Regions from separate parts of the Homo sapiens genome. Here all the other regions are linked to region 1. The links are contacts of gene promoters, found by promoter capture Hi-C in human tissues and cell types (Jung and others, 2019). All regions are on one chromosome and are shown on one strand. The core of a region is centred on a gene start or on the middle of the fragment in contact, and the rest is flanking DNA. Distances in the headings are between cores, read along the strand shown. Region 1 holds the start of PRMT2 (protein arginine methyltransferase 2). Region 2 overlaps MCM3AP (minichromosome maintenance complex component 3 associated protein). Region 3 overlaps LSS (lanosterol synthase). Region 4 overlaps MCM3AP (minichromosome maintenance complex component 3 associated protein).

Region 1 (2,861 bases), core at 332-2,831:
CCCCTCATCTTTCCTGTGGGAAGCGAGCTCAAACTCCATAAACGAGTTACCTGCCTTCCATTGTCATGGAAGCAGGAAAAAACTACTACTTCCTTATGTTGGAAGAGAGTAAAGCACACCCCGCCCCCCAACCCCCGCCCAACACACAAAAGGAGTTGTACAGCAAAATAAACTAGATCTTGACTAAATCTGGGTAGATCAGGGATTCTCTGGAGGGGGTGCTTCCAGGCCTCAGCAAATTGTCCTATTGGTTTGAGCCATAAAGATAGCTCAAGCTGGTACTAAGGACTGACAGATTTGTCAAAGGTCAGTGGCACCTCTACTCAGAATCCCTTTGTGGTTACCAAAATGTGAACCTTGAATATCTGAGTCAGATCTCAGTCAACTTAGGAAGTTTATTTTGCTGAATTTAAGGATGCACGCCCATGACACGGCCGTCGGAGGCCCTGATGACATGTGCCCAAGGTGGTCAGAGCACAGTTTGGTTTTATACGTTTTAGGGAGACATGAGACATCAATCAATATATGTAAGATGAACATTGGTTTGGTCCGGAAGGGCGGGACAACTCAAAGCAAAGGCAGGAGGGAGCTTCCAGGTCATAGGTAAATATGAGACAAATCATTGCATTCCCTTGAGTTTCTGGTTAGCCTCTCCAGAGGTGGCAATCAGATACGCATTTATCTCAGTGAGCTGAGAGATGACTTTGAACAGAATGGGAGGCAGGTTTGCCCTAAGCAGTTCCCAACTTGACTTTTCCTTTTAAGCTTAATGATTTTGCGGCCCCCAAATTTATTTTCCTTCCACATTTTTTTTTTTAAATCAGACTTAAGGTCTGCCTTGATGTTAATGCTGGAGGAGTGTAAAAAGGCATGTCCAACTCTTACTTCCCTTCGAGGCCAGAATAGTCTCTCAGGTTGAACTTCAGGGTCCCCTGGTAAAGGAGGGAGTCCAGTCAGACGGCTGCGGGGGAGGGGGGGCTTCGAATTTTATGTTTTACAGGCATTAGCGCCACCCATTTCTCCTTAACCCCAAACTTCCTCTCCCCACAACAGAAACGTCATCATTCTGCTTCCACTTATCCAGAAGAAAGGCAGAGGGCGCACACTGCGCAGCGCGGATGGGAAAGTTAACTGAATTATTTGCGGGAAGACAGAGGAGGTGGGGGGTCCCCCAAGCCCCAGCCATTTTGTGGCTCGTAGGGGTTGTCGCTTCCCAAGCCGTGAATGGCCCAAACCCGCCCCCCGCCCCAGGTCGGACTCCTGCCCCGCGCCCCTCTGGGTCGGACCCCAAGCCGAGCCCCCCAACCCCGCGGCTGGGCTGGGCGATTGGGGACGAGCTCCACACATGGAGAACCTGGCCTCGCCTCGCAAGACCGCGGGACGCGCAGATGTGAAGTGCGCCTGCGCGGGGCGCAGCCCCAGCTGCAGACGATCTGTGAGCGACGCGCCGGCGCAAGTCGAGGGCGGTGGCTTGGCTTCCCTGGAATGGGGGACGTCTTAGGACTGCGCCTGCGCGGGGCGCCGGGCCCTGGGCGGGGCCTTCCCGGCTGACGGCCTGCGTGCACTGCGCTTGCGCGGGTTGAGGGCGGTGGCTCAGGCTCCTGGAAAGGACCGTCCACCCCTCCGCGCTGGCGGTGTGGACGCGGAACTCAGCGGAGAAACGCGATTGAGGTAGGTGTCCTGATGGGCAGCTCAGATGGCTGGACTGCACGTAAGGAAGGACAGGCCAGGTGAGGCGTCCTCGCACTGCGTGTGCGTCGCTGGCGGACAGAGGCCTCCGCCCCCTTTTGGGACCTCCGAGCGCCTTCGCGATCTCAGCCACTTTCCCTGGCGTCCAAACGGGAGCTCGGTCCCCGTCACACCCTTCCCTGCGTGCCGCACCCCTTCCCGGCCACTCCCGCCGTCCAGCGCCTTCTACGGCCACGCCCACCCCACCACCATCTCTGTCACGCCCTTCGCGGCCACGCCCACCTGCCTGGCGGCCCCTGCCCCGAAGCTCGCGGCGCTGTCCCAGCCTGACCCTCTCGTGCCCCTGCGTCCACGCGTGGCCCTCTCGCTTCCTGCCCCCTTCTCACCCCCCTTCACTGGCCACCTGTTCCAACCCTCCATGATCCTGTTCCTCCCGAGGGCATCTTAGGAGGGCAGGGTCCTGCGCGCACTGCGGCCTCCACTCCGACCCCGTCCCAGTTTGGACCCAGGTCTTCCAATGAAAATATAATTATGCAAATCAGTAAGCATTTGTAACTACGAATATCACAAAAATAAGCTTCAAGTCTGGATTTAGAAGTGAAGCATGCATTTTAAACAAAGAATTGCTATGCAATTTTAAAAACACATTGATCCCAGAGCAGTGTGTGGATTACACTATCACTGGAAAAATACGAATTGAGAAGAAGGAAAAGACTGGAAGATGCAGACCTTGGTTCCTGTTAGTGGAAACACTGTAAGGTCCCAGGTAGGGACTTTTAATTGGAATTAAAGCTATCACACTTCTAAGAAATTAATGAATACTGATTTATTGCCTTAAGTCGACACCTGATCTAACAGAAACTAACAGGCTTCAGCAAATGAACAAGATTAACACCTTGCAGACTAGTGAAGAAAACACACTATTTGAAGTTTATGATTTTTAAATGCTTTTGTCTCTGTAAAGTATTGTAAATTTTCATTTCTACACTAATCTTCACACATACACATTTTACTTCTATTTGGTAGAGGACATCATGCACATTAGAAGTTAAGTGAACTCAATTATTAAGCAATGTAACAAGTACTTTGTGTCTCCTTCTCTTTTTAAAAGTAGAAATGGAAAAGAAAATGAAATAAATCAGCAGTTATGAGGCAGAGCCTAAGAGAACTAT
Region 2 (2,700 bases), core at 29-2,528, 360 kb before region 1:
GGGAGGCCGAGGCAGGTGGATCACCTGAGGTCAGGAGTTCCGGACAAGCCTGGCCAACATGGTGAAACCCTGTCTCTACTAAAAATACAAAAAAATGAGGCGGGCATGGTGGTATGTGCCTGTAATCCCAGCTACTCAGGAGACTGAGGCAAGAGAATCGCTTGAACCCAGGAGGTGGAGGTTGCAGTGAGCCAAGATCGCACTACTGTACTCCGGCCTGGGCAACAGAGCAGGACTCGGTCTCAAAAATAAAATGAAATAAAAAATTAAAATCAACCACACATCTAGATATTCTGTCACACAGTTCTTGAGGAAAATACAAAGAAAAAAAAAAGAGGTTCACCATTGATAGGGGATTCTTAGAACTAAAGGGGACACTGTCCACCATAAGTCCAGCTTAACCACAAGCAGAGGGTCCACCACAAGCAGAGGGCCAGAGAGCTCGCCAGACTTCGCATGTAAGTGACTAATTATGGATCAGACCAGGGTTTTACATTCATTCATTCTCACTACCCCATTCTTCGCATTTTTGTTTTACATAATTTTTTCCTCTCTTATTCTGAGATCTTTGACAAAACTATCTGGGAACAGGGAACTGCTAACAACCTTGCAGGGCACCTGGAACTCCCTCTCCTGGTTCACTCACCTGTCTCATGAGGAGGATTCCTTCCTCATTTTCTCACTGGTGAGGAGAAACTATTTTCAGAAATGAACATGTGGGGCCTACGTCAGATGTGCTGGTCCCAGGGCACACCCCCATCGCTCTTCCCCCAGCTCAGCTCAGCCGACTGCAAAGCCAGACCAAGGTCCTCTACTATCATCCCAACATCTGCTACCAGACAGAATGCTGCACTATTGGCTACTGCCACTCCTGAAAGCTCTTCTCCTGTTTAAAGCCTGCCTTTTCAGCCACCTTAGGACAACTTTTGGATGTGAAAATTCACCTTAGGATGTCTCCCTTGTTGAGACTGAGCAGAACATTGTAGCCCTGGAACTCCGCTTCGCTGGCACAGAAGACACCCTTGTTTCTCAGGTCCTGGTACATCTCCTTCAGGCTCTGCAGGCACTTGGTCATGTTCTCATTATTGATCTTGGCATCAAAGGAGGACATGGGCTCCTCACACATGAAGTGGGCACAGTGGATGTGAAACCGGGTGCACTTCTCAATCAGGGACACCGTCAGGGGGTCACAGAGGTGCTGCTGCGTGATATCCTGGCCACAGGCGAGGGGGAGGATCACACACACATTCCCATGCAAAGAGGCAACCGTGAGAAGGATCATGCTACGACCTCAATTTCTCACTTTTCAATTTGAAACAAAGCCCATGATGCACATTTTAATAGGACTTTGTAGTGACTTAAATAAAAGTCCTGGGGTTTGTTTTTTTTTTTGAGACAGAAGCCAGGCTGGAGTGCAGTGGTGTCATCTTGGCTCACCACAACCTCCGCCTCCCAGGTTCAAGCAATTCTGCTTCAGCCGCTCGAGTAGCTGGGACTACAGGCGTGTGCCACCACGCCAAGCTAATTTTTGTATTTTCAGTAGAGATGGGGTTTAACCATGTTGGCCAGGCTGGTCTCAAACTCCTGACCTCAGGTGATCCACCCACCTCGGCCTCCCAGAGTGCTGGGATTACAGGCCTGAGCCACTGCACCTGGCCCACAAAAGTACATTTTTGTTACAGATAAAATATATAACAGAGTAATAAAAATATCAGTTTGACTTTGGAATTTGCGTGGATTTTTTAGCATCCAGGTTGGAGGCAGCCAATACCTTCCGTATGCCACGCGTGCGGTTCCACACGAAGTCATACCAATCCCGCAGGCTGCCCTCCTTCTGGTCCATGATCTGGGTCACCAGGTAGTCCATGGTCCTGCTGAGCACTGGCAAGGGCCGCAGCTCGTGGGGCAGGGGCTCCTCCTGATCCGCCGAGGACCGACTGTACTCTTTCACAGCTGCTGCGTGGTCCACCTAGAGACATGAAGCCGAGACAGGATGCCCATGTGGCATACCTTGGGCCAGGCATAGTTATGCCTGAAAATGAGGGGGAAAATCACATACACACCCACACAAGATCAGTATTTGAGAATATATTTTTTCAACATAAAATTTCTGTTAAAAGGTGACAATCAAAATTCAAAGACAAATAGAGAAATTTGATTTTGGCAAATATGACAAGGAGTTAAGATATGAGTGCGTCATGACAAACAGGAGGAATGTTAAGTGAAGGCACATCTGCTAGCCTCCAAAGCAGAGAGACGGGACAGGGAAGGGCCTCAAGCACTTAAAAGGTCTCAGGCCCGCTCACACACCAGATTAAGTCTACACAGAGCAGAAGTGAAACAGAGACAGGCGGTGAGGACTGCTGAGGACACAGCATCAGGGGCTGGCTGCCCACCTGGGGCCTGGAATTGCATCTCCCACCTCAAAAGGAGGCTGAAGACGTGGCCAAGGGAAGAGGCAGAGATGTACACAGGACAAGGCCCTGGGCATGTGCCTCTCCTGGGGCAGGGGCCCTACAGTGACACGAGTTGCTGGGCTGGGGACCCCGCACCAGGCGAAGGGTGTATAAAGCCACCAGCCAGGAAGAGGAGAAGCCCATAAGCAAAATTCACAAAGTCCAAAAGGATCTATATTGGTGCAGCTTTCTGGGGCAACAATTTGGGAAGATACATGGATAATGTTCAGGAAAGGTCATACCC
Region 3 (2,831 bases), core at 25-2,524, 430 kb before region 1:
GAAAATATCTGTAACATAATACACAAATACTTACTGTGCTTAAAAATGAAAGAAAAAACTTCCTGGTGAAAATTTTAAAAATGGCTGGGTGTGGTGGCTCACTCTGTAATCCCAGCATTTGGGGAGGCCGAGGTGGGAGGATTGCTTGAGCCCAGCAGTTCAAGACCAGCCTGAGCAACATTTAAAAAATACAAAACATTTAAAAAATTAGCCACAGGTGATGGTATGCACCTGTAGTCCCAGCTACTCAGGAGGCTGAGGTGGGAGGATTGCTTGAGCCCGGAAGTTTGAGACTGTGGTGAGCCATGATTTTGCTACTGCACTCCAGCCTAGGTAACAGAGTGAGACCCTGCTTCAAACAAATAAACAAAAAAAGAATGTTCTAGCTTGGAAGTCACCAAAGAAATGCAGAGGAAGCCCGCGATTAAGTCACCATTGCTCCCCTGCGGGCCACATCCGGGACTCATTGTTCTACACAGTGACAACAACTGACATGTGCTTCCCTGTGGCATCTCACACAATCCCACCACTCTGTGAGGCTGTACTGTTGCCCACTCAGGCAGGGAGAGAGATGAGCAGAGAAGAGAAGTCACCAGGCCAGGTCAGACAGCCAGAAGGGGCAGGGATGGGGGCTGACCCAGGCAGGTGGACCCCAAGCCATGTGGCTCTAGGGAATAATAATGGTCATGAATAAATATTTAACAAGAAAATACCAGTTAAGGTTAAAATGGGGAAAAGCTAAAAAACAACAAGGAAAACTGAAAAATAACCCAGAGGCTACTGAGTAAAATGACACAACACCTGTGCCATTACTGCTCGTGCTGGAGGAGCGCGCTCAATGGTGGGGCTTTTAGAAACCTCACCAGGCACAAAGTGGGCCAGGCGTGAAAGGGGCAGCAAGCCGCCATGGAAATGTGGAGACCAAACAGCAACAGCAGATTCTCCTTCAGGGGCGAGGAGGGGCGACTTAGCTTCTTCTTTGCGCTTCTCTGTATTTTGCAAGTCTTGTTTGCAAAGAACCTGCTTTACTTTTATTACAGTGATTTTTAAAAGATGATCTATTTTTTAAAAGGCCAATTCTCTAAATGTGGCTGAGGACAACTCACGCCCACCTCATGCCGCAGAGCAGCACATGGCCGAGGGCCACGCCAGGCCGACAGAAGACCCTGGACACAGTGCCCTCCTAGCTGCACCTGTGAAGCACAAGAAAACCCCTGCTCCATCCACGGCTTCCAAAAAAACCACACCAGAACATTCTCAGATTGTAAATGAAGCAGCATACTCCCACATAACTCATGGGCCAGAGAAGAACAGTAGAAACAGAAAACACTTTTAGTATCTGTGCTACCACAGCAAGCACCAGAACACACATTTAACTGAATGATATCTCAAAACTCATTTATAGCCTCAAATTCATATTTCAATAAAAGCCTGAAAATCAAATATCTAAGTATTCAAGTTAGAAAAATAAAGGAGAAAGAAAATAGCAAAGGCCAGTGTGGTGGCTCACACCTGTAATCCCAGCACTCTGGGAGGCCAAGGAAGGTGGATCACCTGAGGTCAGGAGTTCAAGACCAGCTTGGACAACATGGTAAAACCCTGTCTCTAATAAAAATACCAAAAAATTGGCCAGTCATGGTGGTCAGCACCTGTAGTCCCAGCTACTCGGGAGGCTGAGGCAGGAGAATCGCTTGAACCCCGGAAACGGAGGTTGCAGTGAACTGAGATCACGCCACTGCTCCCCAACCTCAGCAACAGAGCAAGACTCCATCTCAAAAAAATTAAGAAAGAAAGAAAATAACAAACAATAGAAATTGATGAAACCAAAAATAAAGTCTCTTTAAAAACAGAATCAAAGACTAAGATTTTTTTTTTTTCAAAAGATCAGTATAAGATTCTCAGAAGGAAGAGGAGGATGTCAGCGTTGGGCTCAGAGCCATCTAAGAGGACACTGAACAACTTTGCATGAATCAGTGTAAAGCTGAGTGGAAATGGGAAGACTCCCCAGACTGATACAAAAATGGAAAATCTGCTCAGTCCTATAAACTATTAAAGAAATTACACCGCACTCCAGCCTGAGTGAGAGAGCTAGAACCCATCTCAAAAAAAAAAGAAAGAAAGAAAGAAAGAAAGAAATTGAACTTCTAATTTAAAAACTTTCCTCAAAGAAATCTCCAGGCCCAACTGGCATTTCCGGTAATTTTTCCCAAACATTTAAGGCAGAAATATTATGAATATTACATAAATTCTTCCAAAGAGTATTTTAAAAGCATTTTCCAACTGCTTTTCTAAGTCCAGCATCATCTTAACAGGAAAACCTGACAAAAACATTATAAAGAAAAAAAAATTATAGACCAGCGTCTCTTGTAACCAGAGTTGCTAAAATCCTAACAAAATATTCTTCAAATTGAATCTAGCAATATATAAAAAGGACAGTGCATTGTGACCAAGGTGAGTCTACACCAGGTTGAACAAAAGTAAAAAAATGTAATCGTGATAGGATAAAGAAGAACCTACAAAAATCACATACCCTATAACGTACCCTCTAACACAGCAATGCCACTCCTAGGTACGTGACCATGAGAAATGGGTACCCAGGTGCCCCCAAAAGATAAGTACAAGAGTGTTCACAGTAGATGCTTCATAATAACCCAGACTGAAATCCTCCCAGGTGCTGAGAACAGGCAGCTGGATAGCGCGGCATCTGTGTTCAACCGAAGGCCCGAGGGAGAGAACGCTGCTGTTACCCGAGCCACCTGACTAACCGCGAGCAGGAGAGCAGGAGAGCAGGAGAAGGCAACACGAATTCCACACCTCAGGAGTCCACCTAG
Region 4 (2,700 bases), core at 199-2,698, 380 kb before region 1:
GCACCTGGCCTGTGCCAGGCACTGTCCTGTGCAGTCTGTGTTTGCACTCATTTTATCCTCAAGAGCCAGATGAGCATCTCCACCAGACAGCACCTGCAGAGGCTTGGGCAGTTTATTTTACCGTCTCTGAGTAAAATAGGGATAATAAGTAACAGTACCCATACACAGGTGGCAGAGACGCTAGGGAACTTGCCCAAGGTCACAGAGCTTCCAAGTGGAGGAGCAGGGACACATATGCTCACAATGATGGCACTAAGGCACATGTTGCCTGGATGGAGACCAGCCCACAGATGAGAGTTCCAGGACAGAGGGAACATGGATGGATCAAGTGAAGTGACAGAACATTTGGAAAACTCTACCGAGATATATACGGCCCCCCAGTAAAATTAAAGAGATAAAGAGAACTACATTAAGTGAGACAATAAGGCAACTCTATTTCTTGCAGGAAAAAAATAATTGTGGTTATAGAACACTACTGGTTCTGAGGTGAATAGCAGTCACAGAGCCATCAAAATATGACCCCACTCACTGAAGTAATACAAAGTGCTAGTGTAGCTATCCCGGGAAGACGTGGAAGGCCGAGCAAGGACCATGGCACAAGAGGCCACGCTGTACCTAGTATGGTATGCAGTGGCCAAGAGGACCCCCCTGATTCCACCTAGTGTTCATGCCCACGTGTGATCTCCTGCCCCGTGAGCTGGGCCTAGCCACTCACTTCTGACAGACAGAAGCCAACAAAAGCAACAGGATGTCACTTCTAAGTTTAGGTTATAAACACACTCAGACTTCCATCTAGGCTCACCTCTTGCTCACTCTGATGAAAGCCAGCTGCCATGCTGTCAGCTGGGGAGAGGCCCATGTGGCAGGAACTGAGGAAGTCTTTGGCCACAGCCTGCAAGGAAGTGAATCCTGACACAAGCTCACTAGAGTGAGCTGGGAAGTAGATACCCTTCAGTCAAGCTTTCAGATGAGGCCACAATCCTAGCCAACATTTTCATTTCCACCCATGAGAAACCTTGAGCCAGAAGACCCAAGCTAAGCTACACCTGGATTCCTGACCCACAGATACCATGATAACAGACATTATTTTAAGCTGCTATGTTAGGAGTAATTAGTTATTTAGGAATAAGGTAACTAATACATTTATATTAATGGGAAGTCAGCAGAGAACATTTAAATGGATAAACTGAGAAATGGCTGTGTAAGTGTGTGATCTGGAAACAGGAGAAAAATGCAGCCCTGAAGAAAGGAGTTAAGAGAGGAAGGAGGAGCTACTATGTCTCATTTTAAATCACGTGGGTGGCATTATTTGACTTCTTTTTAAGTACACGGAAGTGTTACTTTCTTAAATGAAAATGAAGGTAACAGCAGCAGTAAACTAATTTCCAGTAGATGAAATGTGACTTTGTAATCCCAGGAAAAGGGAAGAATTTGCACCAAGAAGTTACTGTTACCTCAGAATGGCAAGAGCATGGATGGCTCTTATCATCATCTTTATACTTCTTTTACATTTCCTCATTTTTTAAAAGTTTTGTGTACATATTACATTTAGGAAATCCAATATATAGTATTAAAACAGAAAAAGTAAAGAAGCAGGCTGGGCTTGGTGCCCACTACTCAATTTGACTGGCTTAAAAAAATTTTTTAAACGACATGTACGGACAGACATAATACTTGCTTCTGAGCCTCCCAGTCTTTCAAAACCACATTAGGGAATAAGCAGTATTTGCATGGTTCCAGTGATATCTGGGAGTAAGTGAAAGTAATGAAAACACAGAAGTAAACACAAAGTAATTATAGTTCACCTTTATACACACGTTAACAGAAATCATCTGATCCCCTTTGCTGCTAAGTGAGTTGAAAAGCGAAAGCGTCTGAATCCCACCAGCATCGCTGGATGTGTCATCCACTGAGCCTTCATCTCCCATGAACTTGACTTTTAACCAATTTGCTAGAATTCTACAGATTTAAAAAAAACAAAAAACAAAAAAAACACTTGAAGAATCTAATTCTATATTTGAATTATAAAGACTTTCAGGAAAAGAAGAAAGAAAAATATCACACAGACCTAGGTCCACAAATACCACATCTTACTATGAAGCTGATCTGCACAAAACAGGCTGTTGTTTTAAAATGGAGCAACGATCTGTACTCGTTCTTTTTTTTTTTTTTTTTTTTTTGAGCCAGGGTCTCGCTCTGTCGCCCAAGCTAGAGTGCAATGGCACAAACTTGGCTCACCGCAGCAAGCAAACCTGCCTCAGTAGCTGAGACTACAGGCACGGGCCACCATGCCCAGCTAATCTTTCCATTTTTTTTGTAGAGTGTCACTCAAAGGGTCTCACTATGTTGCTCATGCTGGCCTCAAACTCCTGGGCTCAAGCAATCCTCCCTCCACAGCCTCCCCAGTTGCTGGGATTACAGGCATGAGCCACTGCTCCCGGCTTCTACTTGTTCTTAATTGGGCAGGAGGAGGGGGCACTCCATTCCATTAGAATGGAACTGGCTCATTCTAATGTGACTTAAAATTCTGAAGCATTAAGATTTTCAGCAATAGAAAACATCCCTAGAGTTTGAAATACATGTTTTTTACAGATCAAATTTCTCATACCTGAGACCTTAAGAATTCTTAAGTGACATACGAACTTAGCAAATGAGAAGACAGCTATTTTAAGAAATGACTCACCAGCTGGGCGTAGTGGC

The links. The method cuts DNA at HindIII sites, captures the fragments that hold promoters and counts their contacts. A contact is called where the count stands out against the background at its distance.
Region 2: a fragment that was not itself captured here is called in contact with the fragment with the promoter of PRMT2 in region 1 in 1 of the 25 tissues and cell types used here (dorsolateral prefrontal cortex).
Region 3: a contact is called between a fragment that was not itself captured here and the fragment with the promoter of PRMT2 in region 1, in 2 of the 25 tissues and cell types used here (hippocampus and spleen).
Region 4: a contact is called between a fragment that was not itself captured here and the fragment with the promoter of PRMT2 in region 1, in 1 of the 25 tissues and cell types used here (lymphoblastoid cells).

The regions. Positions count from the first base shown.
Region 1 is chr21:46,634,093-46,636,953 of GRCh38, forward strand. It overlaps PRMT2 (protein arginine methyltransferase 2), which reads left to right and starts at 1,582. Exons shown (of 12, transcript NM_206962.4): 1 at 1,582-1,671; 2 at 2,347-2,455; 3 at 2,804-2,861. The coding sequence starts at 2,860. RefSeq lists an enhancer at 680-1,350 and silencers at 1,121-1,340, 1,451-2,000. The HindIII fragment of the contact is 3,678 bases long and covers 1-2,861 here.
Region 2 is chr21:46,271,617-46,274,316 of GRCh38, forward strand. It overlaps MCM3AP (minichromosome maintenance complex component 3 associated protein), which reads right to left. Exons shown (of 28, transcript NM_003906.5): 7 at 1,772-1,969; 8 at 945-1,213. Among named protein-coding and RNA genes, the nearest start is that of MCM3AP, 13 kb to the right of the region's middle. The HindIII fragment of the contact is 8,173 bases long and covers 1-2,700 here.
Region 3 is chr21:46,202,521-46,205,351 of GRCh38, forward strand. The region is part of intron 17 of LSS (lanosterol synthase); the gene reads right to left. Among named protein-coding and RNA genes, the nearest start is that of SNORD159, 9.8 kb to the left of the region's middle. The HindIII fragment of the contact is 6,573 bases long and covers 1-2,831 here.
Region 4 is chr21:46,249,724-46,252,423 of GRCh38, forward strand. MCM3AP (minichromosome maintenance complex component 3 associated protein) reads right to left here. Exons shown (of 28, transcript NM_003906.5): 20 at 1,806-1,959. It overlaps MCM3AP-AS1 (MCM3AP antisense RNA 1), which reads left to right. Exons shown (of 4, transcript NR_110565.1): 4 at 1-1,978. Among named protein-coding and RNA genes, the nearest start is that of MCM3AP-AS1, 22 kb to the left of the region's middle. The HindIII fragment of the contact is 8,485 bases long and covers 1-2,700 here.